Regions from separate parts of the Homo sapiens genome. Here all the other regions are linked to region 1. The links are contacts of gene promoters, found by promoter capture Hi-C in blood cells and fetal thymus (Javierre and others, 2016). All regions are on one chromosome and are shown on one strand. The core of a region is centred on a gene start or on the middle of the fragment in contact, and the rest is flanking DNA. Distances in the headings are between cores, read along the strand shown.

Region 1 (4,423 bases), core at 663-3,162:
GAGACCATCCTGGGTAACACAGTGAAACCCCGTCTCTACTAAAAATACAAAAAAAAAAATTAGCTGGGCGTGGTGGTGGGCGCCTGTAGTCCCAGCTACTAGGGAGGCTGAGGCAGGAGAATGGTGTGAACCCAGGAGGGAGAGCTTGCAGTGAGCCGAGATCACACCACTGCACTCCAGCCTGTGCCACAGAGCAAGCCTCTGTCTCAAAAAAAAAAAAAAAAAAAAAGTTAAAAAAAACCCCTAATATTTAACTTATTTGCTATGAAATTCGGCAAATAAGCTATTTTCCCCCCACTAGACTGAAAGATCACTGAGGGCAGAAGACCTTTTCTGACTTTTCATTGCTATATTGTCAGCTACAGGGTTAGGCATTCAATAAACATTTATTGGGTGAATTCTAACTTGGATTTACCCCCTGGTTTAAGTCCTTGACTGATTACAATCTGACCGTGAAGGCTGGGCAGGAGAAACAGGTAGTGTCCAGATTCTCCGTAAATTCCAGAAAGATCCAAATGTGGTCCATCAGCAGGTGATGGGGCATAGTTTTGGTTCACACCAACTTACCCCACACTGACTTGAAGTATAGTCCATGAATTCAGCCATTGTTCTGAAGGAAGCACTAAGGGTTGGGGGTCTCTCTTCTCTCTATTTGAATAAATGGCACGTCACAGGTTAGCTCTAGGATTCCCTACTGGAGAATGAAGCCATTTTGGAAATAGTCTCCTTTTTACTTTTGGAAAGGCTCTGCAAGTTTATGTCAGAAAGAACGATGTTATTGAGAAAGAATTCCAACTCTAAAAGATAGACATGCAATTTATCCAGGATCTAAGAGACAGGCTTGCAGGCTTTCCTCTACTATCAGATGATAGCTGTAAGATTTTTTTTTTTTTTTTTTTTTTGAGACGGAGGTTTCGCTCTTGTTGCCCAGGCTGGAGTGCAATGGCGCGATCTCGGCTCACCGCGACCTCCGCCTCCCGGGTTCAAGCGATTCTCCTGCCTCAGCCTCCCTAGTACCTGGGATTACAGACATGCGCCACCACGCCCGGCTAATTTTGTATTTTTAGTAGAGACGGGATTTCTCCATGTTGGTCAGGCTGCTTTCGAACTCCCGACCTCAGGTGATCCGCCCGCCTCGGCCTCCCAAAGTGCTGGGATTGCAGGCATGAGCCACCGCGCCCGGCTAATTTTTTTTTTTTTTTTTAAGTAACCAACCAGGGCTGAACACTACCGTTATTCTACAGCTACCCAACAAGAATCTGTCAAATGTAAAGCGTTTTGAAAGGACTTTTCCATTCATTGTTCTGATCCTTTCCAGCTTCCGCTAAGGGAAGGTTTCCTCAGCTGCTTCTGCGCTGCGCACCCCTGGCTCCCAGCGGGCTACCGCGGCGCGAAGGACTGGGGCGGCCCCCGGCACAGCGACCCTCACCTCTCCCGGGAGAACGCGCTGCGGGCCGGCTGCCGGCTGTTTCTCTAGGTGGGGCGCCTCCCGGGCAAGGACCCCCATGCAGCCTTTGGGACGCTCCAGGGCATGCCAGTCCACCGCCCTCCTCTTGGCCCTCTCCAGCACTTCTAGAGCCAGCCTTGCTGAACGCTGCAGGGAACGTCGGTCCACCCCATTCAGCGCTGCGGCCGCCAAACAGTTGTCCATGGCTCCCTGAGTGGGCACACAACGTACAAACGCCGGCGGGTCAGCTGGGCCGCGGCGACCCTGCTCCAAATCCGGGTGGGAGCCCCAGCCTCGACCTCCCTGGAGACCACCGCTCCTGGTCCGCCCCCAACGCACACTCCAGCGGGAGCCCAGCCAGGACTAGGCCTAGCGCGCCCGCCCCTTCCATTTTCATCTACCCCTTCCGCTACTTAGGGAGCCCCCTCACCCGGCTCACTCGTCAAGGCGCATGCGCGCAACGCTATTCTAGGAAGAGGGACCAGGCCTAGCGCTCCCGGCGGCGCCGGCGCAGCTGGGCCATTGGCGGAAGGCGGGAGAGGCGGGAGAGGCGGGAGAAGTGGGGGAGGCGGGGCGGCTGGGCGGCCAAACACGCCTTCTGCGTCCCAGCCTTGGCGTCTGCGCGCGAGTTGCCTGGTTAACTGCTGAGCGCTGGAGGCGGGGCGCCGGGCGCTGGGGGCCGGGGGTCGGGGGTCGGGGGCCGGGGGTCGGGGGTCGGGGGCTGGGGGCTGAGGACTGAGTCGAGCCAGCAGCCCAGGGCATCTGTCCACGCTGTCAGAGGAGCCTCTGGGCGTGGGGCTGGCCCTTAGAGGGCTACTGCGCTGCTTAACTTGGTGGGTATAAAGGCAGGTCTCCTGTTGAGCTAAAAAATTATGGGGTACCAGCTAGGTAGGCAACATAGCGAGAACCCGTGTAGACACACACACACACACACACACACACACTAGCCAGGAGTGGTTATGGGGTACCAGCTAGGTAGGCAACATAGCGACAACCCGTGTCCACACACACACACACACACTAGCCAGGAGTGGTTATGGGGTACCAGCTAGGTAGGCAACATAGCGACAACCCGTGTCCACACACACACACAGTAGGAGGAGTGGTGGCGCGCATCTGTAGTCCCAGGTACTCGGGAGGGTCGAGGTGGGAGGATCGCTTGAACCCGGGAAGCGGAGGTTGCAGTGAGACGAGATCGCGCCACTGCACTCCAGCCTGGGCGACAGAGGAAGACTTCGTCTCAAAACAAAAACATCATGGGGAATAAGGCAAGTGCCTCCCGCGCCTCTTTCTGCTTGGTCTACATTTTGGGGTGTCGCTACTCTTGTTTGAGGAGGTGATTAGGCCAAACTGTGTGGCTGCCAAGGTGGCCTTTGGAGAAGGGAACAGCTCGGGATTGAGGCGAGACGGAGGCGGGGCTGTCTGCAGATGTTCCTGGCCCCCGGGGCAGGGGGCGCCTGAGAAGTTGTAGGGTCTCTCATAATCCCTCAGCGCAGCTCTCTCTCCCCTCCAGTGGGAAGTACGGATTCACATATTTTTGGAGACCTGTTCTCTTGGGGTCTGACTCCATCTTTTAGGAAGACTGCACCATGTTTAAGTAAGGAACTGTGAATGCTTACTTAAACCATGTTTAAGTAAGGACCTGTCACTCCACTCCGCTGGTTATTTGGTAGGAGATACAGCCCAGGCTCTCACTGCTAATTAGTGACTCAGCCGCACCACCCAGCGCAAAGCAAAGCGCCGATGCTTAGGAAGGTCCACTTTGAGGGACACGCTCAGTGGGGGTCACTTTAAGGAACACAAATAAATCCTCCTTTAAGTCTCCTCTGTGGTTCATGAAAAAGGAGAGAAACTCCATCCTCACCTAGTCTCAACAGATGGCTTGATGAGCAATTATCAGGTACCAGGTGAGTAGTAGCCGACCAATACGACCTCCTTCTATGCTACTTAACTTTTGCAAATTTCCTGCTTTCCCCTTATAAAAAAGAATAACAGTGAGTGAAACCCTACATTATTCTTGAGATGATTTTTTTTTCATTTTATTGGTATTCCAAAACATTTCCTTCAATAAGGGTTTATCAAGTGCCTCCTTTAGAACATAGTGGTTGTACGTGCATGGGGTCCTGTATATCCACTCGGGAGAGCTGGTTTGAATTCTGGCTCTGCCATCTTTTTTTTTCCATTTCTTCTCCTTCTCCTTCTCCTTCTCCTTCTTCCTCCTCCTCCTCCTTCCTCTTCCTCTTCTTCCTCTTCTTCCTTCTTCCTTCTTCTTCTTTTTTGTTTAATAAAGAAACGAGGGTATCACCCTGTCAGCCAGGCTGAAGTGCAGTGGCACGATCTCGGCTCACTGCAGCCTCGACCTCCTGGGCTCAAGCGATCCTCTTCTTCAGCCACCACGCCCTGCAAATTTTTTAAATGTTTCGTAGAGACAGGGTCTCCCTATGTTGCCCAGGCTCTCTGCCACTTTTTTGCTCTGTGGTTCTGGGCAAACATATTACTTCTTTGAGCCTCACTTTTCCTCATCTCTATATCTGGGGATTCCAATAGTACTAACTTCTTTAGACTGAGCTTCTTGAGGGAAGGGACTGTATCTGTAGTGTTTAGAGTTTAAGGTGCATCTAGTATTTACTATTTTGTCTGTCACAGTAAGGACTAAAAATAGCCCTTGAATGTGTGAATTGGGTTGCCATTAGGATTCTGTGAGATAATTCCTGTAAAATGCTTAGCACAGTGCCCGGCAAAGATAAGTGCTCCATAGACTTAGCTAGCATTAGTATGTGCCAGGCACTGCCCTAGGAGTTGTGGAGAACAGAATGTGGATCAGACTAAAGGAGAATAAAAAAGAGGAAAGAATGCACATAAAATCTATAATACCAAGAACAAAATATTCGGACATGCCATAAGATTGACACAGATAAAATGCTATCAAGCTTAGGAGACTATGTTCAGCTGGGAGGATCAAGAAAGGTTTTGCAG
Region 2 (4,423 bases), core at 1,039-3,538, 300 kb after region 1:
TCTTGCTCTCATAGGTAGGGCAGTATTTGACCTCCTCTTCCTCCCCACCTGGCCTATGGATTATTTTATCCACTAGAGAGTAGAGGCATAGTATCCAGGGTCTAGGATCTTTCAAAGGCCTATAAAAATAAGTCCTGGCCAGGCACTGTGGCTCACACCTATAACCCTGGCACTTTGGGAGGCCAAGGTGGGAAGATTGTTTGAGCCTAGGAGTTCAAGACCAGCCTGGGCAACATAGCAAGACCCTGTCTCTTAAAAAAAAAATTAGCCAGGTGTGGTAGCACACACCTGTAGACCCAGCTATTCAGGAGGCTGAAGTGGGAGGATCACTTTGAGCCTGGGGGTTGAGGCTGAAGTGAGCCATGATCGTGCCACTGTACTCCAGCCTGGGTAACAGAGTGAGACCCTGTCTCAAAAAAAAAAAAAAAAAAAAACTCCTGGCCATGTGCAGTGGCTAACGCCTGTAATCCCAGCACTTTGAGGGGCTGAGGCGGGCAGAACACCTGAGGTCGGGAGTTCAAGACCAGCCTGGCCAACATGGAGAAACCCCGTCTCTACTAAAAATACAAAATTAGCCGCACCTGGTGGTGCATGCCTGTAATCCCAGCTACTCGGAAGGCTGAGGCAGGAGAATCGCTTGAACCCGGGAGGTGGAGGTTGCATGAGCTGAGATTGCGCCATTGCACTCCAGCCTGGGGAACATGAGCAAAACTCCATCTCAAGAAGAAAAAAAAAGTCCTGAAACAATATAAAATGAAAAATGGCAAATTATACATAAATGTCTTATTAAACGTCTATATATCATGTTAAACCTATAATTGTTAATTTTATAACAATTTCATAAAGTTTCATAAAAATTCTGTTATACCTGAAAACAATTTGTAAGTTAGAGTTTCACGCTTCATAAGAAATTCTATATACACAAGATAATTGCCAAGAAACCTGAGCCCAATGTAAATTAAATGAATTACTCCTAGCCAAATAATTTAAAAAGCAAAATTATAAAAAACAATTTCAAAAATTTGCAATAAAAGCTATATTTACCACAGACTGTAGGTGCAGCTTCATGTTTTATGTAGGGCTTCCTAGAATAAGAATGCCTGTTCTCTGGGAAGCACTCTTATCCATGGGCCCTGGAGTTATGCCCAGGTTGGAGAGGGGGACCCCTTGTCCTATAGACATCACTCCTGAAGGCCTTGCACAGAATATGCTTTGAGAAATGAGAGGGTGTAACCAATCCTTAGAGACAGCTCTGCAGTTGTAGCCAGTATCTGTTTTCCCTTTTTTTTTTTGACAAGCTCTTGCTCTGTCACCCAGGCTGGAGTGCAGTGGCATGATCATGACTCACTGCAGCCATGAACTCCTGGGCTTAAGCGATCCTCCTGCCTTGGCTTCCCAAAGTGCTGTGATTATAGGTGTGGGCACCCAGTCTGGGGTGTTTTTTGTTTCTTTTAGTTTTGTTTTTTACAGCAACTAACTATATTATAACCAGTATTCCAAAAACAGTGCTTTATTTGCTCACTGGGCTGGGACGATATTCCTAAGCTTTTTTGGAAATTGATGTACCCTTGATTTCCAGCTATGTCAGAGATGTAAGACCTGCGGAGGCCAAGCTCCACATTCGTGGAGAAAATAAGTATCTCCTTCATGCTTGTAAACAGGAACACCACAGCCTCGGTCTTGCCCCAGCCTAAGGGCTAAGGCCTGATGCTGGAGGAAGCAGTTGTTTGTATCTAGGACTCCTCATTTGTTCCAGTGGTTCCCATTTGTGGTGTGGCCCACTGACAATGTTGCTTTATGGTAAAGATTCTGCCAAGGCAGTGCCTCTGTGACTTTTGAAATTTATTAATTAGGGCTAGGCATGGTGGCTCACACCTGTAATCTTAGCACTTTGGGAGTCTGAGGTGGGAGGATCGTTTGAGCCTAAGAGGTTGAGGCTGCAGGGAGCCATGATTGTGCCACTGTACTATACATCCTGGGTGACAGAGAGAGACCCTGTCTCAATGAAAACATAAAAAGTAAATTTTATTAATTAGCTTAATAAAGGATTCGTCCTCTTTCTCCTACATAAACTGAATCTCTGGTAACCAAATAATTGATGAGGGAAGTTTCTTTTTAAAAAGTTTTCCACAGTAATTGAAGAAGGACTGATAGATTTAGAATATCATTTTTTAGCCCTCAATGAATGAATCTAGGCAATGACCATCTGTGGCTGCTCACATCACCAAAAAAGAGACGATCAGACATTGTGTGCATTTGTTTGTAAACAAATAGAATCTGAACCTAAACAAGTCTCTACATCTACCAATTTAAAGATTAATTCCCAATTGACAGGAAATGCAGAGAATAGAGGAACACCTTAAATGACTTCACAAGGATCCAGTCAGCAAAATCCAGTCTCCAAGGACCGATGGAACAAACAACTTGGTTTACATTACAAAGGGAAAAAAGGGAGATGGAGGGGAAACCTTAAAGAGTCTTAAAAAGCATATAAACCAATTGCACTATATAGAACTTACTTGCGTCTTGGTTTAAACACACTAAAAACATCATGAGACATTGAGAACATTTGAAGAGATAATGGCTGAGAACTGTCCAGAAGTGATGAATGACATGAATTCATAGCTATAAGATGTTGAACAAAATACACTTGAAAAATAAAAAGAAACTTGAAACGTATTGCAGTGAAACTTCAGAACACCCAAGACAGAGAAGATCCTACCAACAGCAGAAGGGAAGACGTAAATGTTACCTTCCAATGATTCTAGTGCTCCTCTCCTGAGTGCATGGGAAGATTGCACTACTGCACGCCACTTACTTATTTCAGGTGTGTTTATGAGACTTGAATTGGCCAATGAGAGTGGCAGTGATGTAGGTCATTGCTAGGTTGAATAAGAGCCAGTGCTTGATTCTCTGTTTATTTTCTCTCTTCCCTTACTGAGGTGATTCTGAGAGCATGCACTGATATGAAGATGCTTAAGTCTGAACCAGTCTGGTGTGCTGTGCTAATACATGGATAATATAAGCTTTGCAATATTTTCCATATCTGCAGCAAATTTTGCATGAATGAGGACTTTTGTTGTAAGTCAGTGAGAATTGTGTGTTATTTATTACTGCAGCATAGGCTGGCCTATAGTACAAAGAAGCTTGGGTTTCTCTGGAGAAAAAAAAATCAATAACAAAACACTAAGATCCAAGGCACTGGCCTAGCAAGCAGGTAGCAAGGAAACCGACATTGGTGACTAGAAGGATAGTGATTCAGGTTATGCAGTGGAAAAACATTTGGCAAAACTATAGTCTGAGATAACTTTGGAGTCACATCATGTACTTAATGAATTTCAATAGAGGGGAAGATATTGGAAAACAACATTGGTAGCCTACATTGGTTGATATTCTGTTTATCAAGCTATTTCAAGAAAGACATGAGTTCAGAAAAGAATTGCCCTGTTTTTAAGGAGTGAAAGAAAATACATAGTATACAAAAATCCAAGGACTTAGGGTTTTGAAGAGGTAATTGCTTCTTGACGCTGAAGACTAAGATAAAATTTAGAATTGAAGGCCCATTAAAATTCAGCCTTGAGGTAAGGATCATATTAAAAATATGGGCATAATATTCATTGTTAAAACCTTTGAATGGATTAAGGTACTTCAGGGAAAATATCAAATTAAGAATATAGTGCCCAGTAAAATCTTTTAGCTGGATAAGATTCAGTGAAAAAATTCTAAGGATGTGGCTTTTCCACCAAAGCCTGTGCGGAGGGAGGAGGAGGAGAGGGATAGAGAGAGACAGAGAGAGAGACAGACAGAGAGAGAGAGAGAGAGAGAGAGCAAGGCATGGGCATGTGAACTCCCCTTATCCTTGGCTTTGCTTTCTGTGATTTCAGTTGCCTCTGGTCAATGGCAATCTGAAAATATTAAATAGAAAATTCCAGAAATAATTCATGAGGTTTAAATTGCACACTATTCTGAGTAGTGTGATGAGATCTCTTACCACCCCACTCTATCCCACCCTGTCCTGCCAGGGACATGAATCATCACTTTTGTCTGGTGTATCCACTATATATACTACCCACCCTTAGTCCCTAGTAGCCTTCTTGGTTATTAGGTCAACAGATCATAAGAAGAAGGGTGAGCACAGTACAGTAAGATTTTTGAGAGAGAGATCACATTCACATAACTTGTGTTACAGTATACAAGTTATGTTTTTTTCTATTTTATTATTAGTTACTGTTAATTTCTGGCTGTGCCTAATTTGTGTATTAAACTTCATCATAGGTATGTTTGTATAGGAAACAACAGTATACAGTATGTTGGGTTCAGAACCATCCATGATTTCAGGCATCCACTGAAGATCTTGGCACATATCCCCCGTGGATAAGGTGGAACTACTGTAGTTCTCAAAAATAATTGCAGGTATAGCTTT
Region 3 (4,423 bases), core at 1,036-3,535, 280 kb after region 1:
TGGCCAACATGGTGAAACCCCATCTCTAGTAAAAATACAAAAATTAGCTGGGCATGGTGGTGGACACCTATAATCCCAGCTACTTGGGAGGCTGAGGCAGGAGAATCACTTGAACTTAGGAGGTGGAGAGGTTACAGTGAGCTGAGATCGTCTGACTGCACCCCAGCCTGGCCCACAGAGTAAGAATCCATCTCAAAAAAAAAAAAAAAAAAAAAATCAACATGTGAAACTGCTTACTAGAAAAGTTAGTCCCTTCCTCAGCCATCTGATTCTGTTTCAAGATCTGCTACTGTTAAACCAGTCTACTTAATCTTGAAGCTGTTGAAGCATTCACTTTATTTATTTATTTATTTATTTTTTGAGATGAAATCTCACTCTGCCACCCAGGTTGGAGTGCAGTGGCATGATCTCAGCTCACTGCAACCTCTGCCTCCTGGGTTCAAGCAATTCTCCTGCCTCAGCCTCCTGAGTAGCTGAGACTGCAGGCGCATGCCACCACACCCAGCTAATTTTTGTATTTTTAGTAGAGACAGGGTTTTGCCATGTTGGTCAGGCTGGTCTCGAACTCCTGACCTCAGGTGATATGCCCGGCGCATTCACATATTTTGAGGATTTAATTCACCAATCTGTTTTCCTCTCTCTTGTTTCCTTAGCTAGACTGAAGGCCTTCAGTGTGTTTCCTAGACACAACTCCCAAATCTGTGGTCCCTTTTTCTATTGCATATTTACACAGTGGTCAGTTTCTGATTACTTTAACCACTAGAACAGAAATCTGAAACTAGAAGTGATGAGGCAAAGCTTTGGAACAGCAGCAAAAACAGCCATCACAAAACTCATGCATTATATTCTGTAGGAAATCATAAACTCATATGTGGGTATCTAGCCGGTGTTCTTGATCTAGCAAGCTTAAATATATGGTTTTCTTGGGAAAGTTTTAGTTTAGCTACATTATAGTAGTAAGCAGAGTAGAGGCAGGGAGTCAAGATTTCTATAAGGGCAGCTAACAAGGGAGAAGACAAGAAACATCACTTGGAAAAGTGCCACGGTATGAGGTCATTCACTGAAAGAACAAGCTAAGCCCTGCATTCTTAGAAGTTCCCGAAAGCATCACTGAATTACTTATTGGTTCATCCAAATTCCTTGATATCACTAAGAAATGGTCTCCTTAGCCTCCTTATGCTCTGCTTAATAAGACAGAAGAGTGTGTAAAGTGTTTTAGAAGTACTCCCATTTGAAATAATGTTTTTAAGCCAATTGCATTTTGTTATTGAAAGAGGTATGTTTCAGATAACTGGAAAGTTAATTTATGTGGAACACCACCCTATCTGCATTACTTTATCCCCAGCAATATTATCTTGCTGTAAGAACCTGAAATTTATATTAAACTCAGGGCATGTGCACTAAGTGTCTGTTTATTGATTTCTCAATCATTTCTTACTAGGGCACTAGCTTTCTAGCTTCTGGCACAGAATCAAGACTAGCCAGCCTGTTTTCAAGGCTGGTCCCAGATTCCTAGTCTTGGACCTGTATGAGCTTGGGAAATCTAGGTAATCACTCTGTGTCTCAATTTCCCTTCCTGTTAAAATGAAAGAGCAATGTTTTATCTGAATTTTGACAATACCATGTGGCAATCATTAGAATAATAATGTCAACACACTGAACTCTAGAAACACATCTGGGTGGTAAGAGTGAGGAGAGAGAGAGGGCAGCAGGTGACAGAGCACAGGTCAAGCAGAATTCAGGTTAGATGGGTGCAGGGTCACATAGGTGACTAGTAGCAGAGGTTGAAAGTCAGACAATTCAGGGAAGTCGTAGGTCAGGCAAGTTGTCAAGTTAGATGGTAAAGACAGGTAGGTTAAATAGGTTAACTGAATCCATTAAATTAATAGGTGAGGTAATTTCAGATAAGTCAGACAGGTGGCAGACAAAGATAAGGAGACAAAAAAGAGGCAAGAGGAAAGGGACAGGGACGGGGACACACAGTTTGGGGGAAGGGAAACGAGGATCGAGAGGAGATGCTAGTTAAGGGAGGTAAGAGGGGGCTCTGTAGGCTCAGGGTTGTCTCTCTCCATCTCCCAAAGATGACCTGAGCTGATTATCAGAGTGAATGTGTTTTGGCATTTTGACTCTTCCTCTCTGAACTAGAAAATAGTTTATTTTCAGTAGTGAATCTCAAAATATACCTTTTCCTTCATGAAATCTAGAGGTTTTGTATGTAAAGATGAAGTCAAGGTGTCAGTTACACAGTTGACAGCCTAGAAACCTCAGTGATAACCCTCTACGTACTTTATAGCTAGAAATACACATTCACCTCCTGTCATTTGACCTCTGAACAATCCTGGGGTCTAGAGGGTGGGTGGTATCATCTCCATTGACAAGTGAGCTCCCTTCTGCATGGGTGGCACCAAGTGTCAGACAACCTGGCCACGCTCTCAAGCCCTTTTCCAATCCCATCATGCTCTTGAGAAGTGCTTCCTCTCCTCCCAGGCCCTGGAGACTCAGCCTGCTTTCCTTGCTCTGAAGGTTGGCCCTACCCTTGCCCCCACCCATCTTGTAGCACTAGCAACAGACTAGGATGAAGGTTCTCAAATCTTCTTTTTCTTTTTGTACATGAAATAAGTACCTTTTGTTTTAATATTTTACAACCCTTCACTCTAGAGAGCCGATATAGTATAAAAATAACTAACACATAGCATATATAGGTTTCAGAAATGCCATTGTGTCTGCATAGCCTGTAAAAATGGGGTTGGGCTGGCTTTCTCACAGCACTTTCTCTGAGTCCCTTCCTCCGTGGAAATTTTCCACATTCTTGTTAATACTACCAGAGCTTCACCCCCTCTCCTGATAGCATTGGCCTCCTTGAGATTGGCTGTGGCTGTGAAAAGGAAATAAATCAGTCAAGTATGCAATATCTTGGGATGTATTGCTGACCTCGTATTGTCTTCTGGGCATTACGGGACCAGGTTCATCAGGTTCACCTCAAAATAAACTGCCATGGAGTTTCCGCAATTTTTCCACAGCTCAGTCTGCATGTCTTCCTCTCCCCTATCATTATGTTAACTCACATGTGCAATAGGTAATTAGGACAGGAGAGCCAATTTCCCACGAATATGATCTCTACCCCTAATCTGGGAAGTTTTGTCCTTGGGGATTTTATCTTGTGCATATCTTGTGACGTATGGCACCTGACCATTATTATTTGGGTGGTCTCACGTGGATTTTAGTGCTCTTAATGCTTGGCAACAAGGATCTCACTAAGAAGAGACATCTATATAATTCTCAATGTCCAGCATGGGTAGATTAAATGAGCGCCAAAACCACACTAAACATACATGTCAAATAGGGGAAAGGAGAAAGAATCCAGTGCAAAGGATTAGACTGTCATATATTGCAAAACGGAATGAAATAGTCACTGGGTGTTCTTGTTCATAGATAAGGAAATATAGAATATTAGAAAGCTATGGTAGTGCATAACCAGGACAACAAGGAGACATTAAGGAATGCAGGCCTGGGCATGTTTGAGATAGCCATTGATTTTTGGCCTTGGTCCCTTAAGCTGGGCTTCATTCCTAGCTTACCCAATTTGGTTTAAATATTCTTTCCACCTTGCTTCTCTTCAACCCTTCTTGTCTTGGCACTCAGACTGTGGAGGAAATGGAAGCTTTTTAAAAAACTGAACACTATTAAACTACTAAGGAAAATATAAAAAGCATACTTTTCTTTGGAGAGATAAAAGATATTTAACTCATCTGTGTTTAAAATTAAGAATAGAAAATATAAGCCTTACTAAAGCAGTTAAATTATAAGGGAAAGAGGTAGGGAAAGAAGAGAAAGAGATGATAAAAGAAAGCAGGACAGGAAGAGAGAGAAGGAGCTCATGAGAGAGGAGGGAGAGAGGAGAAGAGGGGGAAGGAAAAGAAATAGAACAGAATATGAGAGATAGTGAAGGGGAGTAAGCCCAGAGAGGTATGGAGGGAGACAAGTCAAAATTAAGTTGTAGCTTTGGTACCAAAGATCTGGATTCTCTCTCTTTTTTTTTTTTTTTTTTTTTTTTTGAGACAGGGTCTTCCTCTGTTGCCTAGGCTGGAGTGTAGTGGCACGATCTTGGCTCACTGCAGTCTCAACCTTCCGGGCTCAAGCAATCCTCCCACCTTAGCCTCCAGAGAATCTGGGACCACAGGCCCATGCCACCATGCCTGGCTAATTTTTCTATCATTTGTGGAGACGGGGTTTCACCATATTGCCTAGGGTGGTCTTGAACTCTTGGGCTCAAGCGATCTTCCCGCCTCGGTCTCCCAAAGTGCTGGGATTACAGGTGTGAGCCACCATGCCCAACCAAGATCTGGATCTAAATCTATAAAAAAATCTACATCAAATCTACTTAGTGATGAAATATTGAAAGGATCCTCTGAGTTCAGAAATG

The links. The method cuts DNA at HindIII sites, captures the fragments that hold promoters and counts their contacts. A CHiCAGO score of 5 or more calls a contact.
Region 2: a contact is called between a fragment that was not itself captured here and the fragment with the promoter of AKIP1 in region 1, in 1 of 17 cell types (M1 macrophages). The highest score is 5.6, in M1 macrophages.
Region 3: a contact is called between a fragment that was not itself captured here and the fragment with the promoter of AKIP1 in region 1, in 1 of 17 cell types (M0 macrophages). The highest score is 6.0, in M0 macrophages.

What each region holds. Positions count from the first base shown.
Region 1 is chr11:8,908,678-8,913,100 of GRCh38, reverse strand. It overlaps AKIP1 (A-kinase interacting protein 1), which reads right to left and starts at 1,912. Exons shown (of 6, transcript NM_020642.4): 1 at 1,878-1,912; 2 at 1,430-1,657; 3 at 568-648. The coding sequence starts at 1,651. It also overlaps a transcript of DENND2B not described here. RefSeq lists enhancers at 1,608-1,697, 1,708-1,777 and a silencer at 1,868-2,147. The HindIII fragment of the contact is 8,527 bases long and covers 1-4,379 here.
Region 2 is chr11:8,605,746-8,610,168 of GRCh38, reverse strand. No RefSeq gene overlaps it. Among named protein-coding and RNA genes, the nearest start is that of STK33, 14 kb to the right of the region's middle. The HindIII fragment of the contact is 1,481 bases long and covers 1,548-3,028 here.
Region 3 is chr11:8,628,245-8,632,667 of GRCh38, reverse strand. All of the region lies in intron 15 of TRIM66 (tripartite motif containing 66), which reads left to right. Among named protein-coding and RNA genes, the nearest start is that of STK33, 36 kb to the right of the region's middle. The HindIII fragment of the contact is 2,756 bases long and covers 908-3,663 here.